3 separate regions of the Homo sapiens genome follow, and regions 1 and 3 are each linked to region 2. The links are contacts of gene promoters, found by promoter capture Hi-C in blood cells and fetal thymus (Javierre and others, 2016). All regions are on one chromosome and are shown on one strand. Each heading gives the region's core, a stretch centred on a gene start or on the middle of the fragment in contact. The rest is flanking DNA. Distances are from core to core; before and after follow the strand shown. Region 1 overlaps LINC01494 (long intergenic non-protein coding RNA 1494). Region 2 holds the start of CNPPD1 (cyclin Pas1/PHO80 domain containing 1). Region 3 overlaps WNT6 (Wnt family member 6).

Region 1 (4,693 bases), core at 585-3,084, 270 kb after region 2:
AAGGCTCAGAGAAATTTAAGGAATTTTCCAAAACCATATAATTTATAAGTGATGAGAATTAGACCTCAGAAGTGCCATTTGATGCCAGGCTAGAAGGCTAAGTGTCTGCTAAAGGCCACCATTCAGTGAGACTAAAATGGGTGAGACGTCTAGGTACTTTACATATATTACATCTAGTCCTCAAAACAACTTCAGCAGATGAGTGTTTTTATTTCAATATAGCAGATACAGAAACTGAGGTCCAGAGAACTTAATGACTTTGCCTTAGGTCACAGGGATAGTGAGAGACTAAACTAGGATTCAATCCCTCCCGCCGCACAGGCTGACCCCAAAGCCTGGCTCTTTCCTCTGCACTGTGCCATGCTCACTGGAAGGATTTTGACAAGAGCAGATATGAGTGGACATGGAGCTAAGGCAGGACAGTTGGGGTACATTCCAGAGAGAGGGAAACATGGACCACAGAGGGGCTGTTTCCATTTTCTATTACTGAGTAACAAACCGCTCCAAAATTCAGTGGCTTAAAAATAACCATTTACATCCCACAGTCCTGTGGGTTGACTACAGTCAGCTGGGCAGTTCTCACGTGGGGTCTCTCAAGCAGTTCAGTTAGATGGTGGCTAAGGCTGGAGTCATCTGAAGGCTCAACTCGGCTGGATATCCAAGATGACTTTTTAAAAATTTATTTATTTATTTATTTATTTTTGAAGACACAGCCTCACTTCGTCACCCAGGCTGGACTGTAGTGGCGCAATCTCACTCACTGCAACCTCCACCTCCCAGGTTCAAGTGATTCTCATGCCTCAGCCTCCCGAGAAGCTGGGACTACAGGCATGTGCCACTATGTCTGGCTAATTTTTTGTATTTTTAGTAGAGATGGGGTTTCGCCATGTTGGCCAGGATGGTCTTGAACTCCTGGCCTCAAGTTATCCGCCTGCCTCGGCCTCCCAAAGTGCTGAGATTACAGGTGTGAACCACTGAGCCCAGCCCCAAGATGACTTTTTAAAGTCACATGTCTGGCACCTCATCTGAATTGGCTGGAACTGAAGGGGCCTGCCCAGGCATTACTCTCTCTATACAGCCTTCCCATGTGGCTTGTTTCGGGTTCCTCATAGCATGGTAGTCTCTGGGTAGACAGACCTCATACACGGTGATTGGCTTGCCCCAGAGTGAACATTCCGAGCGACTGAGGCAAAAACTGCAAAGCTTCCTATTCCCTCTCTTCAGCAGTCATGCAGCTTCGCTTCCACAGCACACTCAGTGAAAAGGAAGCATGGACTGGCCCTTTCAAGGGGAGGGGACAATACACAGGTGTGAAGCATGATTCAAGGCGGACCACCTTTGGGGCCCAGCTATTACAGGGGCTGAGGCAGGAAAGGACTGCTCAGGGAACTGCACACAGTCATGCTTCAGTGGAACATGGTGTGGAAGTGAGAAAAAACTGGAGATGATCGTTTGTGGCATATGGTGGAGGGCTTCAATGCTCAGGAACCTGCATATGGATACACACTGGAGTCTTTAGCTGCCCAGCATCTGAGCCCCCTTCATATGTTGGTGGAGCCTCCCTAATGTGAGTCTTAGTGAGAAGTCAGATACTTGCTCACCTGGCCCCTAGCAGGAAGATCACAGCCAAATCAATGCTCCCAGTCAGGACTCTAAATCTTCAACAAGTGACCCAAGGAGGAAGAGGACTGTTTATAATTCATCCCAGAGGTGGCAGCAGCAAGTGCTCAGGGTGGTGGTAGCCATGTGGGAAGCAGCCCCCAAGCCCCTTAATCAGGCTGCACTTGGGACAGGATTTAGCTAAAGTTCTAGCTGCCTAGCTTCTCTTGGCTCCTGCTTGCTTCCTGAGCCTGATTCTTGAGGCTTCCTGTCAATTCTTTGAGTTCCCTGATGTCATCCCAGTAAATTCCTCTTCTACTAAGTGAACCAGAGTCTGTTTCTGTTGTTTGCAATTAAGAACCCAAATTGGTACAAAGATCCATTGAGAGCTTTAGTCAGAGGAAATGACATGATCAGAGCACTTCGTGGGAGAGAAAAACAGAACAATAGGATAGGGATGGATTGAAGAGGAAGAAAGAGGAATGACAGAGGCTAGTTGGAAGGTCGTTGTGATGTTTGAGGTGTGTGGTGAACTAGGATATTGACCATGTGAATGAAGTGGAAGAATAAGCAGATCTTGGCCACTGATTGAATATAGAAAGGAGAAGAGAAGGTGAGAGTCCAAGTTTACACCAGTTTTGAGGTTCAGTGACTAAGAAAATGATGATGTGACAAAGAGAAACAAGCAAGTTAAGGAGAACTGGTTTGGAGGGGAAAGTCATTCATTCACTTATTCAACAAATATTAAATGCCTGGTCTATGCCAAGCACTGTGCTAGGCATTGAGAAAAGAACAGTAAACAAAACAAAGTCTCAGCCCTTAGCAAATACATACATAAGATAATGAATCTGCATTAATAAAGCTTGAGCCGGGCATGGTGGCTCACGCCTGTAATCCCAGCACTTTGGGAGGCTGAGGTAGGTGGATCACTTGGGGTCAGAAGTTCAAGACCAGCCTGGCCAACATAGTGAAACCCCATCTCTACTAAAAATACAAAAAATGAGCTGGGCGTGGTGGCAGGCCACCTGTAATCCCAGCCACTCAGGAGGCTGATGCAGGAGAATTGCTTGAACCTGGGAGGCAGAGGAGTCAGAGGTTGCTGTGAGCTGAGATGGCGCCATTGCACTCCAGCCTGGGTGACAGAGCAGGACTCTGTCTCAAAAATAAAATAAAATAAAATAAAGCTTGAGTGGGTGGTATCACAGGCATACATTAAAACATGTCTAGCTGGCAGCTGGAACTTCAAGAAAGATCACAGGAGACCAGGTGTGGTGGCTCACACCTGTAATCCCAGCACTTTGGGAGGCCAAGATGGGTGGATCACCTGAGGTCAGGAATTCAAGACCTGCCTGGCCAACATGGCGAAACCCTGTCTCTACTAAAATACAAAAATTAGCCCGGCATGGTGGTGCACACCTGTAATACCAGCTACTCAGGAGGCTAAGGCAGGAGAATTGCTTGAACCCAGGAGGCAGAGGTTGCAGTAAGCTGAAATCACACCACTGCATTCCAGCTTGGGTGACAGAGCGAGACTCTGTCTCAAAAGAAAAAAAAAGAAAGATCATAGGAAGGAAGTTTGGGCCTGAAGACAGAAGTTAGTAGTGATTTCTGTAGACATTTATTTATTTATTCATTCATTCACTTATATTTATTGAGTTCCTACTATGTACTTAATACCATTCTTGGCATTAGAAATACAGCAAAAAACAACAGAGTCTCAGTTCTCGTAGAGTTTCCATTATAGAGTGTGGAAGCAGAGCATAAAGAAATACACAAATATGGTCAAATATGTGATCTATACTATGAAGAAAAATAAAGCAAGGTAAAGGTAAGAGGAAGTTTGCTATGTTATACAGGATGTTCTGCCAAGGCTCCTCTTTTCTATGTTTATTTTGTGTGGGTTTTTTTTTCTTTTTTGAGACAGGGTCTTGCCCTGTCAATCAGGCTGGAGTACAGTGGCTTGATCATAGCTCAATGTAGACTTGAACTCCTGGGATCAAGTGATCCTCCCGCCTCAGTCTTTCAAAGCACTGGGATTCCAGGCATGAGGCACCATACAAGGCCCCTCTCATAAGGAGATATTTCAGTGAGGTCCTGAATGAAGGAAGACAACATTCATGCGGTTATCTGGAGGAAACCGATTTCAGGCAGAGGGAGGAGGTGCAAAGGCCCTGAGGCAAGACAGTGTTTGGATTGCTCAAGGAATTTGCAGGAGGCCAGTGTGGCTAAAGTAAAGTGGATGAGAGAGAGTTGGAGGAGAAAATGAGGTGAAAGAGGTAGCAGGGAGCCAATCCTATCACGCCTTGTAAGTCATGGTGACCTGTAAGTCTCAGCTCACTGCAACCTCCCCCTCCCGGGTTCAAGAGATTCTCCTGCCTCAGCCTCCCGAGTAGCTGGGACTACAGGTGCACATCACCACGCCCGGCTAATTTGTACTTAGTACTTTGGCTCTTGTCCTGTGTAAGATAGAAAGACTTTAGAGACTTTTGAGCAGAGGAGGCACATCACATGACTGACACTTTAGAAGGATCACTTGGGCTGCTGGGTATAGAATAGACTGGGGTTGTGTAATGGCAGAATCAAGGGGAGCAACTAGGAGACAGTTGTAGTCAATTAAGCCAAGAGATGATGATAGCGTGGACCATGAAGGAATGATGGAGGAAGTGACATGTGATCAGACTTTAAATAGAAACTGATGGGGAACTAACACGATCTGCCAATGGGTTTGATGACTCTAGGATTTTTTTTAACGGGGATAGCTGGAAAAGCATTTGCCATTTACTGAATAGAGAGGATTAAGAAGTACATCTAAAGCTCCAAGAATGGCCAGGCGCAGTGGCTCACGTCTGTAATCCCAGCGCTTTGGGAGGCCAAGGCAAGTGGATCACTAGAGCTCAGGAGTTCAAGACCAGCCTGGGCAGCATAGTGAAACACCCGTCTCTATAAAAAATACAAAAATTAGCCAGGGGTGATGGTGCACACCTGTAGTCTCAGCTACTTGGGGGACTAAGGCAGGAGAATTTCTTGAACCCAGGAAGTCAAGGGTGCAGTGAGCTGTGTTTGCAATAAATGCACTCCAGGCTGGGCAAAAAGT
Region 2 (4,582 bases), core at 2,052-4,551:
TGTACTGCAGCAGCTCCTGCAGGTGAATCTGGAAGGTGAGCCAGCTCTCAGCCAGGTATCTGCACAACTCGGGCACACTCAGCAGGTGCGGCCGGGCGCCTGACCCCGCACCCTCACTGGGGAGACATGACATGACCCCTGGAGGCCTCAGATACCAGCTTCCTAGACACTTAAATCCCTCTGAGAATGCCAAAGATATCTTTAGTCTAAAAAAGCAAATGACCCCACCTCTCAAAAGGAGGCTGTCCTGGTCTTAGAAGCAAAGCCAGGAGGACCCAACCCTCTGCCCCAAAAGGAGCAGGCACGCAAACACCTACACAGGAGCCTAGGACCATGAAAAACCCATGGCTTGTTACCAGTTCATTCACAATGCTGGGGCACTGCCCTGCTCCATGGTGACACTGGCACCAGCAAGCAGGACAGGATGTGGGCATTTGTCTTCAAGAGGTGGCCTGTACTCACCTGTCAGAGTGTGGCTCCTCTGGGGATGATGCTAGAGAGAGAGGAGGGGGGCAAATTATTGAGTGGTAGGGGCCCTGGGAGACACTCCCCAAGGCAGAAATAGTTGTCCCTCCTCTGCAGCCCCAGAGCACCTTCTTCAGATGCCAATGGGGGAGCTGTTACATGTTTTTGTTTGCGTCTGTCTCCTTTAGACATTACCCTTCTCCAACATAAGAACTAGATTTTACTCATGCTTATCTCCCAAGCAACTCACATACAGCCTGTCACCTACTAAGTAAATTATATGGATAACAAGAAAAACAACACTGACGTTCTATTTATAAGGCTTATATGTGAAACACTATCATAAGTATAGCATGTGTATTAACTCATTAATCCTCTCCTCACCTCTCTATGAAGTAAGTTCTATCATCTGTGTTTTACAGATAAGGAAATTGAGACAAACAGAAATTGAGCTACTTTTACAAGGTCACAGCAATGGTAAATGGCAGAACAGAGAATGGAACCCAGGTAATATGGCTGCAGACTTCACCATCTTAACCACTGCACCTACAGTAGTATTAGTTTGGGAAAGGGGCAATTCTCATTTTAGGGAATTCCGTACAAAAAGGAAGTGGGCCATGCCTGGGAGGCAGGTGGCCTGCTGTACGTTCCCCTCGCCACTTAACCCCACCCAGCGGAATCAGGCACCAAGCAAGTACCCAATGGGTGCTTACTGAATGAAGAAACACTCACCTGAAACGTCAGGGAGAAAGCGAGGCTGCCAGAGATCCAGCAGAAAATAGGCCAAAAGTGAGACGCTGAGTAGGAAGAAGGGCCGGAGGGACGAGGAAGACAGCAACCTTAGGGAGAGACAGGCACCTCAGCAGTGAGTGGGTGAGACAGGCTCATGCATCCATCTCAGAAGGTGGAAAGGCGCCTACTGATGGGGTAATGGCACCTCCAGGCCTAACTCGCGACTCACGACTCAGAGATAGAAAAAAATGGGCAATTCAAGCGGATGTCAGCCTGCAAAAACTGGGGATGGGTCATGCCCCCAGGCCAAGTGATAACCCAGAAAGGGGAATGGTGCTCTCGACCCCTCCCTCCCCCGCTCATCCCGGCCCCGCCCCCTCCTCCGCGGCCGTTACCAGAAGAGGCCGTTGAGCGCGGCCGCCGTGACCAGGCTGTGCAGCGGCTTCTCCCACACCAGCAACCGCTGCGCCGCCGCCAGCACCGCCTCCCAGCCGCGGAGCCGCAGCCACAGCGTCGTGGCCAGGCGTCCCACCGCCTCGGCCGTGGCCGCCTCCTCCTCTGCCTCACTGGTGGCCTCACTCATGCCTAGGCTCAGACCCAGACCCAGGCCCAGGCTCAGGCCCATCCCCGGCCCCCCACCCGCGCCAGTGTTACCCCCGCCACCGCCGCTCGCCATAGCCCCGCCGCAGCCGCCGCCCGAGCCCGCGAGGAGCCAGGGCTGCGCGGCCGCCGCCGGGGGCGCGTCAGGCGGAAGGGGGCGCCGCGGAGGACAGCAGAGGTTGCGGACGAGCGTCACGTGACTGCGGAGCGCTGAGCCCGTCACGTGACGCGGCCTAACCCCCCCCCCCCCGGATAGGGCGGGCCGCGCATGCGCCCCGGCGGCTGCCGCTGACACTGCGCCTACACAGGTTCGTTTTCTGGTTGACGAAGTACCCCGGGTTCCGAGTCCGGGTCTAGGTCCAGGCAGTCGAGCCCGTTTTCTTATCCCACAGTAGGCAGGGCGGCTAGGGAGTGTGGTGCTGCCCCGGTATCCCCGTGTGGGGCAGGAAGTGGGCTTCCAGATTCCCAGTATCCCCGGTAGGGTCTGCTTCTGCTCGCTCGGGAAGGGCGGTGGCCGTCCCATTACTCAACCAACCCTCAACGCACTGGTCCTCCCAGTTCCCTCCCCTCAGTGGGTAAACAAACACACACCAGCGCTTGACTCGACAGACTCGAAAACAACATCTACTCAGAAAAGTTGTTTCTTTCCTATCTCCTTAAACTTTCCCACTTCCACATATCGGAGCTTCTTCCCACCTCGGCCTACTCAAGCATGAGATCGGAGGCGGGAGGTGGGTTTCAACACAAAACCTTGGGTAGATGCAGTTTACTTTTGGGTGGACGTGTTGACACGTTTTGAGGCCTTACATTCGCTTAAGATCACAGAATTTCCTCAGTAGCCTTAGGTTTAAAAGTTCAAATTACAGTAAAAAAAAAAAACACCCTGAGTTTCTCTTCCTTTTCATAGTTCACCCACTGCTAAATTTCCTGTGTGTCCTTTCAGACGCTTTTCATATGCATTGCTGAGTATGTATAATATCTCTCCTAAAAAGCAACTGGGAACAACTTCCTGTTGTGCGTTTCGTCTTATTCACATTAACTTCTCCATTGCTACGCCTGGCTTGTTCATCCTCAGTGCGGCGTGGTCCCCCCTACGAATTGTCCCCATTTCTCAGAGGCGCCTGGGGCTTGGCCACGTTCCGTGAGACCAGGAGTTCGAGTCCGGTTCCTGCCCGCGGGTCGGGGCGGGAGGCTGGGCCAGATGGGCGGCAGGAAGTGCCAGGCGCTGACTTGCAGGCGGCACCCCCGCGGCTTGTAAACGCCGGGCGGACGCGGCACAGGCGGAGTACGCGCCTCGCAGCCGCATCTCCTTTCTGCTCCGCGAGGTGAGCGTCGCACGGACGCTTGACACCTCCCTTCCCGGGCCTAGGGCCCCCGCGCGCCGCGCCAAGCCCGGGGCGGAACAGGAAGAGGCGCCCAGTTCAGCCCGGGCCCCGCCTTCCGCCGCCGGGGGGAGGGAGCTGCGAGGGCGAGGGCGAGGACGGCGGCCCGCCCCGGGGAGGCAGGCTGGCAGGTGGACAGGCGGGCAAGGACAGCTCCGCGAGCCCCCTACAACTCGTTTCCTTCCGTTCACCTTCGCAGGGCGGCGACTGGCGGCGCGATGGACCTGACCGGGCTCCTGCTGGACGAAGAAGGCACCTTCTCCCTCGCCGGCTTCCAGGACTTCACGGTGAGTGGGGGTCCCGCCCCCTCCCCGGCCTCCCGGCGCGCCCCTCCCGGCCTGAGCGGCGCTGCGAGCTCGCCTGACTGCTGTGCCGGGACTGGGCGGCAGCTGCTCGAGCAGTGCTTCCTTGAGGCCGCGGCTGCTTGGGCCGGGAGGGAGAGCCGCGGAGTATAGGAATGGGCGTAGGGGTGGCCACACGAGGGCCCTTCTCGGAGAACTTCTCCCGGGGAACCCTCGATGGGGGTGGGGGCATTCCTCCCTCTATGGACCAGGCTGCCATTGGCAAGCGATTTACAGAACGCGGGTCTGGGTAAGGCACGGGCCCCCTAGCAGCGAGGCCGGCCTGTCCCCTGCCCCGCCTTCCAGCCCAGAGCCAGGATCTGCATCATACCTTTCCGTGCCCTTCACCCTCCGCTGCCCCTGCCCTGTTTCAGTTCCTCCCAGGACACCAGAAGCTGAGTGCCCGGATCCGAAGGAGGCTCTACTATGGCTGGGACTGGGAAGCCGACTGTAGCCTGGAGGAGCTCTCCAGCCCGGTGGCAGGTTAGGCAGTGTTGTGTGACTGGACAAGTGAGAAGCATGAAAATGGGATTGTCATCAGGCAGAAAATGGCTCGAGGTTTGCCCCGTGGCTACACTGTCTCTTCATTGCTAGCTCGTTGGTACTTGGTTCAAGAGGGCAGTTTGCATTTCCCATTCTTTTAGCCCAAATGAATAAAAAACATTGCTGCCACATATATCTATACAAATCACTCTTGATTTATATATTGAAAAGCTAATTTTCGAAGGATATCCATCATATGTTCCCCAAGTAAACAAGGCATGTTTATGCCACAGATGAACAGCAGTGACAGATAAATCTGGATAGTTTGATGTGACAGGGCAATAAGCTTTCCTGTTAGAATGAGCTGAAATTCGAACTTGGAATGGGCTTTTTGTCTCAGTGTGTGAGAATTTGATCTCTATTTTGTTACTATGGTCCTGTCCCCAAGGCCTCAGAAAATACAGATCTGGGTCTTCTGCTAGCAGTGGGGACTGGTGTGTTGGGTGTGGGTGCTTGTTTGCTCACTCGGCCTTCCTTCTGTCCCTTGCAGACATTGCTGTCGAACTGCTCCAGAAGGCA
Region 3 (4,849 bases), core at 1,583-4,082, 300 kb after region 2:
GGGTGTCTGTCTTTCTAGCTAGCATCCCCAGTGATTCTGGTGGGGACTCCTTTTGGGAAACGCTGCTGACCTGGTTGAGGAGCTGATTTAGTTTCCTTTGGCATCTCTCTGATGAGGGGGTCTCTTTTCTTCCCCACCTCCACTGTCTGTGAAATACAGAGGTGCAAAGGAGACCGAGAAAACCCTTTCTTAAAAAAAAACAAAAAAGCCTCCGGAGGCAAATAGTGATACTGAGGCTTGCACTCAGGCGTGGCTCTGCCCTGGTGTCAGGAGGGTCTAGGAGTGCCCAAGTCAGAGCACTTCTCAGTGAAGGGAGGGGAGAGTCTGTGTTGGTCCAGAGCCTTGGCATGTATGTAGGTGAGGCCCAGAGACTGTCTGCCCCTGGGGTCCCAGCCCCAAATGACCCACACCATGGCCAAGCCCCTATCAGCACCCCCTAGTCCCCACCCTGGCCCTGCCCTGGGCCCTGGCCCTCAGCCCAGCCCCAGCCCCCGCAGCCGCCGCCTAAGACCACAATTACAGGGGCCACTGGGGGGCGGGGGAGCACTGGGGATGAAAGGCAGCTTGGAGAATGGTTCCAGCTGTGGCAGCTCTGGAGAAGGTCACAGGGAGGAAGGGCCGGGGAAGCATGGGGGTGAGAACAGGTGGGACCCTCACAGCCCCAGCCTAGCCCAGTCCAGCCCCAGCCCAGTCCTGGTGCCCAGCTGGAGAAGTTTGTCTTGCTGAAGAAGAACGCCAAGGAGCCACAGACCAATAAGGAGGCTCTTCATTCCATTGTCCAGGCCTCAGAGGCCACCAACCCTCAGCAAGGTAAGGGGGAATGGCTTGCTGCTGCAGTCTCCCCAAACTCCCAATGTGTTTGGTCATTGAAAGGGAAGGGAATTGTTCCCCGAGCCCGTGGCCTCAGGCTGATCCTAGGCCTTCCACTCGGCCTCCTCACCCATCTGCCTGTGTTCCGCCTGTTCCTGATGTGGTCACACACACATCTGGGGTGCCTCTTTGCACTTCCCCCATCTCCCCAGTTCCACATGTCCCCTGCCATTCAGCCAGCAGGGGACTTTGATGGCTCAGACTGCCTGAGGCTGAGCAGCTGGATGAGCAGGGGTGGGTGGTGGTGGGAACTCTACTTCCGGCCCCTTCCCAGGCAGCAGGGCAACAGCACAGATCTATCTCTGGGCTCAAAGAAGATAAGGCTAGAAGTCCCAATGGTGCCTTCTGGTAATCACTCCCACCCTTCATAGAAGGCAGTGCCCAGACGCCTTCAGGGCTTGGTAACAGAAGATGGACCAGTAACATGTGGCCAGCAGTTTAAAGATGGAAGTGCATTCTCACAATGTGCTAAAAAGCAATCAGGGACCCCTATTAGGTGATAGGAAGTGCTCAGATAGGTTAACTGACTTGACCAAGGTCAAGCTAGCAAACAAGGCATTTTTCATTGTACCATACAACTTCCTCTGAATTCCTTTTAACCTGCCTAGAATGGTGCCAGTTCATGCCACTTCCCCAGCTTCCCTCCCTGGCATTGTGGAGGAAGATGTCCAGCATCTTCCACCCTATCTCACCCCCTGCAGGACCCAGCAGTGGTAGAGTCTGGGAGGCTGGCATCCCAGCCCTAGGTCTGGGCCAGCCCAGACGTCCCAGACAGTCTGGAACCCTAGAAGCTTGACCCAAGCTGTCTGTAGGTCTCCTTGCTTCCTTTCAGTCCTATCCTCTCCTGCCCACCACTCTCTGAGTTTCCCAGATGTCCTGCAGGTCCTGTCTGTCGCTCCCTGTTAATAGAGAAGCTGGGCTCCGCATGCCCTCTGGTGGTCTCTGAGAGAAGTGCAGGAGTTTGGGTTTTGGGCTTGTTTGGTTTTTTTGTTTGTTTGAAGATAAGAGCAGAGCTTTGGGGAAGGCAGATCTGTGAATATAAACCTTGCCCTCAGGGAGCTTCATTTCTCCTCTATGTGGACCATAATGTATTTCCACTGTCTCCTTTGGTAAGTTAACAGAGTTTCCTTTGGTCAAGGAGTTCTAAGTCCAAATTCTCCATGACTTCCCTGAGGCCCAGACATTTGACCCAAGGGAGCCAAGAGGAGGCAGAAAGGAAAACCCTGGTGCCTCAACCTTCCCACTGCAGCCTGACACCCCTCCCCACCATGAGCCTTGAGGATTGAAGCAGGCTAGGTCACCGAGTGAATGCAGGGGCATTGCGGGGGAAGGACAGGGGTCCTGGAAGCCACGGTGAGGGTCTGTCACATCCAGAACGAGCTCCCTTTCCTTCTGTTTCATTTGAAGGACTGTGCTTTGCTCCCTGTGCCTGCCCCACCCCCCTGTGGTTCTAGAGAGGCTGTCAATCCCAGGCATGGTAGTACATCTCCCTAGACACCATTATTGGTTCAGGAATAGGCAAATGACCAAGCTGAACTAAGCAAGGTCTTCCTTGGGACTTCTGTTGGAGACAACTGGGAAAGTCATTCTTCTGCTTTTGGATCTAAGACTGCATATAGAGCTGTCATGGAGAAAGTCTGCAGGAGGAGATAATGAGGACAGTATGCCAAGAGAGGCAGAGATAAGCAGAAACAATAGATGCAGAGGCGAGGGAGAGGGAAGGAGATGAGAAAGAAGCCTGTGACACCACGTGAGCCCCTGGGTTCAGCTGTACCTGAATTCAGACTAACCTCTGGACTTCCCTGGTATAAAAGCCATTCATTATTTCTGTTTGGCCTCAGCTAAAAGTCAGGTATCTTCATTTGCAATCAGGGCCTGCCCAATATCTGCAAAGCATCATATGTCTGTCCCCATTCTCACAGTAACTATCATTTACTAAACATATGTTTGACAAATTATGTGTCACAAGCTATGCTAAAGGCTTTCATATCTCAAAAAAAAATTCTCCCAACAATCCTGTGAGGGTGTGGGACAGATTATGATGGCTGCAAATTATTTGCCACTCCTCCCATTGAGAGGTGGAATTAATTTTCCCTCCCTTTGAATTTTGCCTGGCTCTGTGAACTGTTTTGACCAATACACAGTTACAGTGATGCTATGTAACTTCCAAAGCTGGACTTGAGAAGATACTTACAGCTTCTGCCTTCAAGTTTGGTACACTTTCCTTTGAAAGTCAGTTTTGGCCGGGCGCGGTGGCTCACGCCTGTAATCCCAGCACTTTGGGAGGCCAAGGCAGGCGGATCACGAGGTCAGGAGATCAAGACCGTCTTGGCTAACACGGTGAAACCCCATCTCTACTAAAAATACAAAAAAACGTATCCAAGTGTGGTGGTGGGCGCCTGTAGTCCCAGCTACTTGGGAGGCTGAGGCAGGAGAATGGCATGAACCCAGGAGGCAGAACTTGCAGTGAGCTGAGATCACGTCACTGCACTCCAGCCTGGGCAACAGAGCGAGACTCCATCTCAAAAAAAAAAAAAAAAAAAAAAAAAAAAAAAAAAAAAAAAAAAAAAAGAAAGTCAGTCTTATGTAAGAAGTCTGACTATCCTAAGGCTAACATGCAGCGAGGAAGCCCAGGTTAGCCACATGGAGAGAATGAGAGCACAAGAGAAGCTCTGTGCCCTAGACATGTGAGTGGGGGCTTCTTGGACTGTCCAGCACAGCACAGTGGAGACTCCAGCAGAATGCAGCCATGTGAACCCAAGCCAATGGTTCTGCTATATAGAGCAGACCTACCAAGCTGAGTTCTGACCAATCATGACCTCAAAAATCCTGAGAAGTGATTACTTTGGGGTTGTTTGTTATGTAGCAATGGATAACTGAAACAGAGCGAAATCCCTTTGTATAAAGAAAATGAGGCTAATTTGGCCTCTGTTGTAAAGTTCTAAGCAGCAGCACCAACTGCAAACCCAGAGTGTCTGACCCCAAAGCTCATTTTTTGTCCTCCATACCTTGATGGGGGAGTCATTCCCCATTGCAGTATTTGGACTGGAGGAAAGTTGGAGGCTCTGGGTCCTGGAAGTTGGGCTATGCCATCCCTCTTTCTCTCTGGAGGAAGATGAGAGCTCAAGCTTCAGCTCTGGAGAATCCAGAACTGCCCTCTGTCTCCTCACTTTCACCAGTAGCTTCCCAAGAGGAACCAGAAGGAAGGAAATATTGTTGGGTGTCAAGAGGTATGCATCAGAAGCTTCTGATGCCCCTGTCCCTTTAAAGAGGAATTGCTAGTTCTTCTCCAGCTTGCAGATCCAGGACCTAGATGTGTGACAGGAGTGAACAAGAAGAATGCCAAGGGGAGATAGCGAGTTTCCAGGAGAGGCCAACCTGGTCGGGAGATAGGGACCCAGGTGATAGCCCCTGAGGTGCTAGTTCTAGCAAAACCACCTTCTTCTGGAGCCTGGCAGCCTGAAGATCAGTCTCCCCCAAAACTGTGGGTCCAGCCCTGGTGGTTTAAATATCTTTATTGATACTAACCTCACCCACCATCCTGTGGCCAGCAGTTCTGGGGAGCCCAGTATCCAGAGGCCTTTAGACTGGCTTTTTTCCAGTCTAAAAAACTGTTTCCTCCTAGAGGCCAAGGGGAGGGAGGGCCTGTACAGTGTCCTTTAAACGCTCCCCGAGCGCCTTTTCGGGGCCGTCTGGCGCCCTGGGCCTTCGTGGGTGGGCGTTCCTCTCAAGCCCCTCGCCTCACCATTTCCAGAGCCCTGGGAGTTGGGCTTTGGCAGGGAGAGGCTGGGCTCGAGCGGCGAGAGGCGCCCGGTGCCGGTGCCCTGAGGTCCCACAGGTGCGAGCCACCGCTGCGCGAAGTCAGTCTAGCGGCCGGGCGGCGGGTCACAGGCAGAGGCTGAGCTCCTTGCGCACACGGCAGCGGTGGCACTGTACTACGCAGCACCAGTGGAAGCGGCACAGGCAGTTCTCTTCGAGC

What was found. Contacts are between HindIII fragments. The CHiCAGO score rates a contact against its expected background, and 5 or more counts as called.
Region 1: a contact is called between a fragment that was not itself captured here and the fragment with the promoter of CNPPD1 in region 2, in 4 of 17 cell types (naive B cells, total B cells, naive CD8 T cells and 1 more). The highest score is 7.0, in naive B cells.
Region 3: a contact is called between a fragment that was not itself captured here and the fragment with the promoter of CNPPD1 in region 2, in 10 of 17 cell types (naive B cells, total B cells, naive CD4 T cells and 7 more). The highest score is 9.6, in naive B cells.

What each region holds. Positions count from the first base shown.
Region 1 is chr2:218,901,688-218,906,380 of GRCh38, reverse strand. The region is part of intron 4 of LINC01494 (long intergenic non-protein coding RNA 1494); the gene reads left to right. Among named protein-coding and RNA genes, the nearest start is that of WNT10A, 23 kb to the right of the region's middle. The HindIII fragment of the contact is 1,258 bases long and covers 1,206-2,463 here.
Region 2 is chr2:219,175,644-219,180,225 of GRCh38, reverse strand. CNPPD1 (cyclin Pas1/PHO80 domain containing 1) reads left to right here and starts at 3,301. Exons shown (of 8, transcript NM_015680.6): 1 at 3,301-3,466; 2 at 3,895-4,003; 3 at 4,554-4,582. The coding sequence starts at 3,398. It overlaps RETREG2 (reticulophagy regulator family member 2), which reads right to left and starts at 1,951. Exons shown (of 9, transcript NM_024293.6): 1 at 1,593-1,951; 2 at 1,198-1,304; 3 at 463-493; 4 at 1-116. The coding sequence starts at 1,873. RefSeq lists silencers at 1,517-1,586, 3,037-3,086, 3,157-3,366, 3,487-3,546, 3,385-3,679 and 2 more and an enhancer at 1,756-2,256. The HindIII fragment of the contact is 4,554 bases long and covers 1-4,351 here.
Region 3 is chr2:218,873,752-218,878,600 of GRCh38, reverse strand. WNT6 (Wnt family member 6) reads right to left here. Exons shown (of 4, transcript NM_006522.4): 4 at 4,368-4,849. The coding sequence ends at 4,756. It also overlaps a transcript of WNT10A not described here. Among named protein-coding and RNA genes, the nearest start is that of WNT10A, 4.7 kb to the left of the region's middle. The HindIII fragment of the contact is 2,337 bases long and covers 1,664-4,000 here.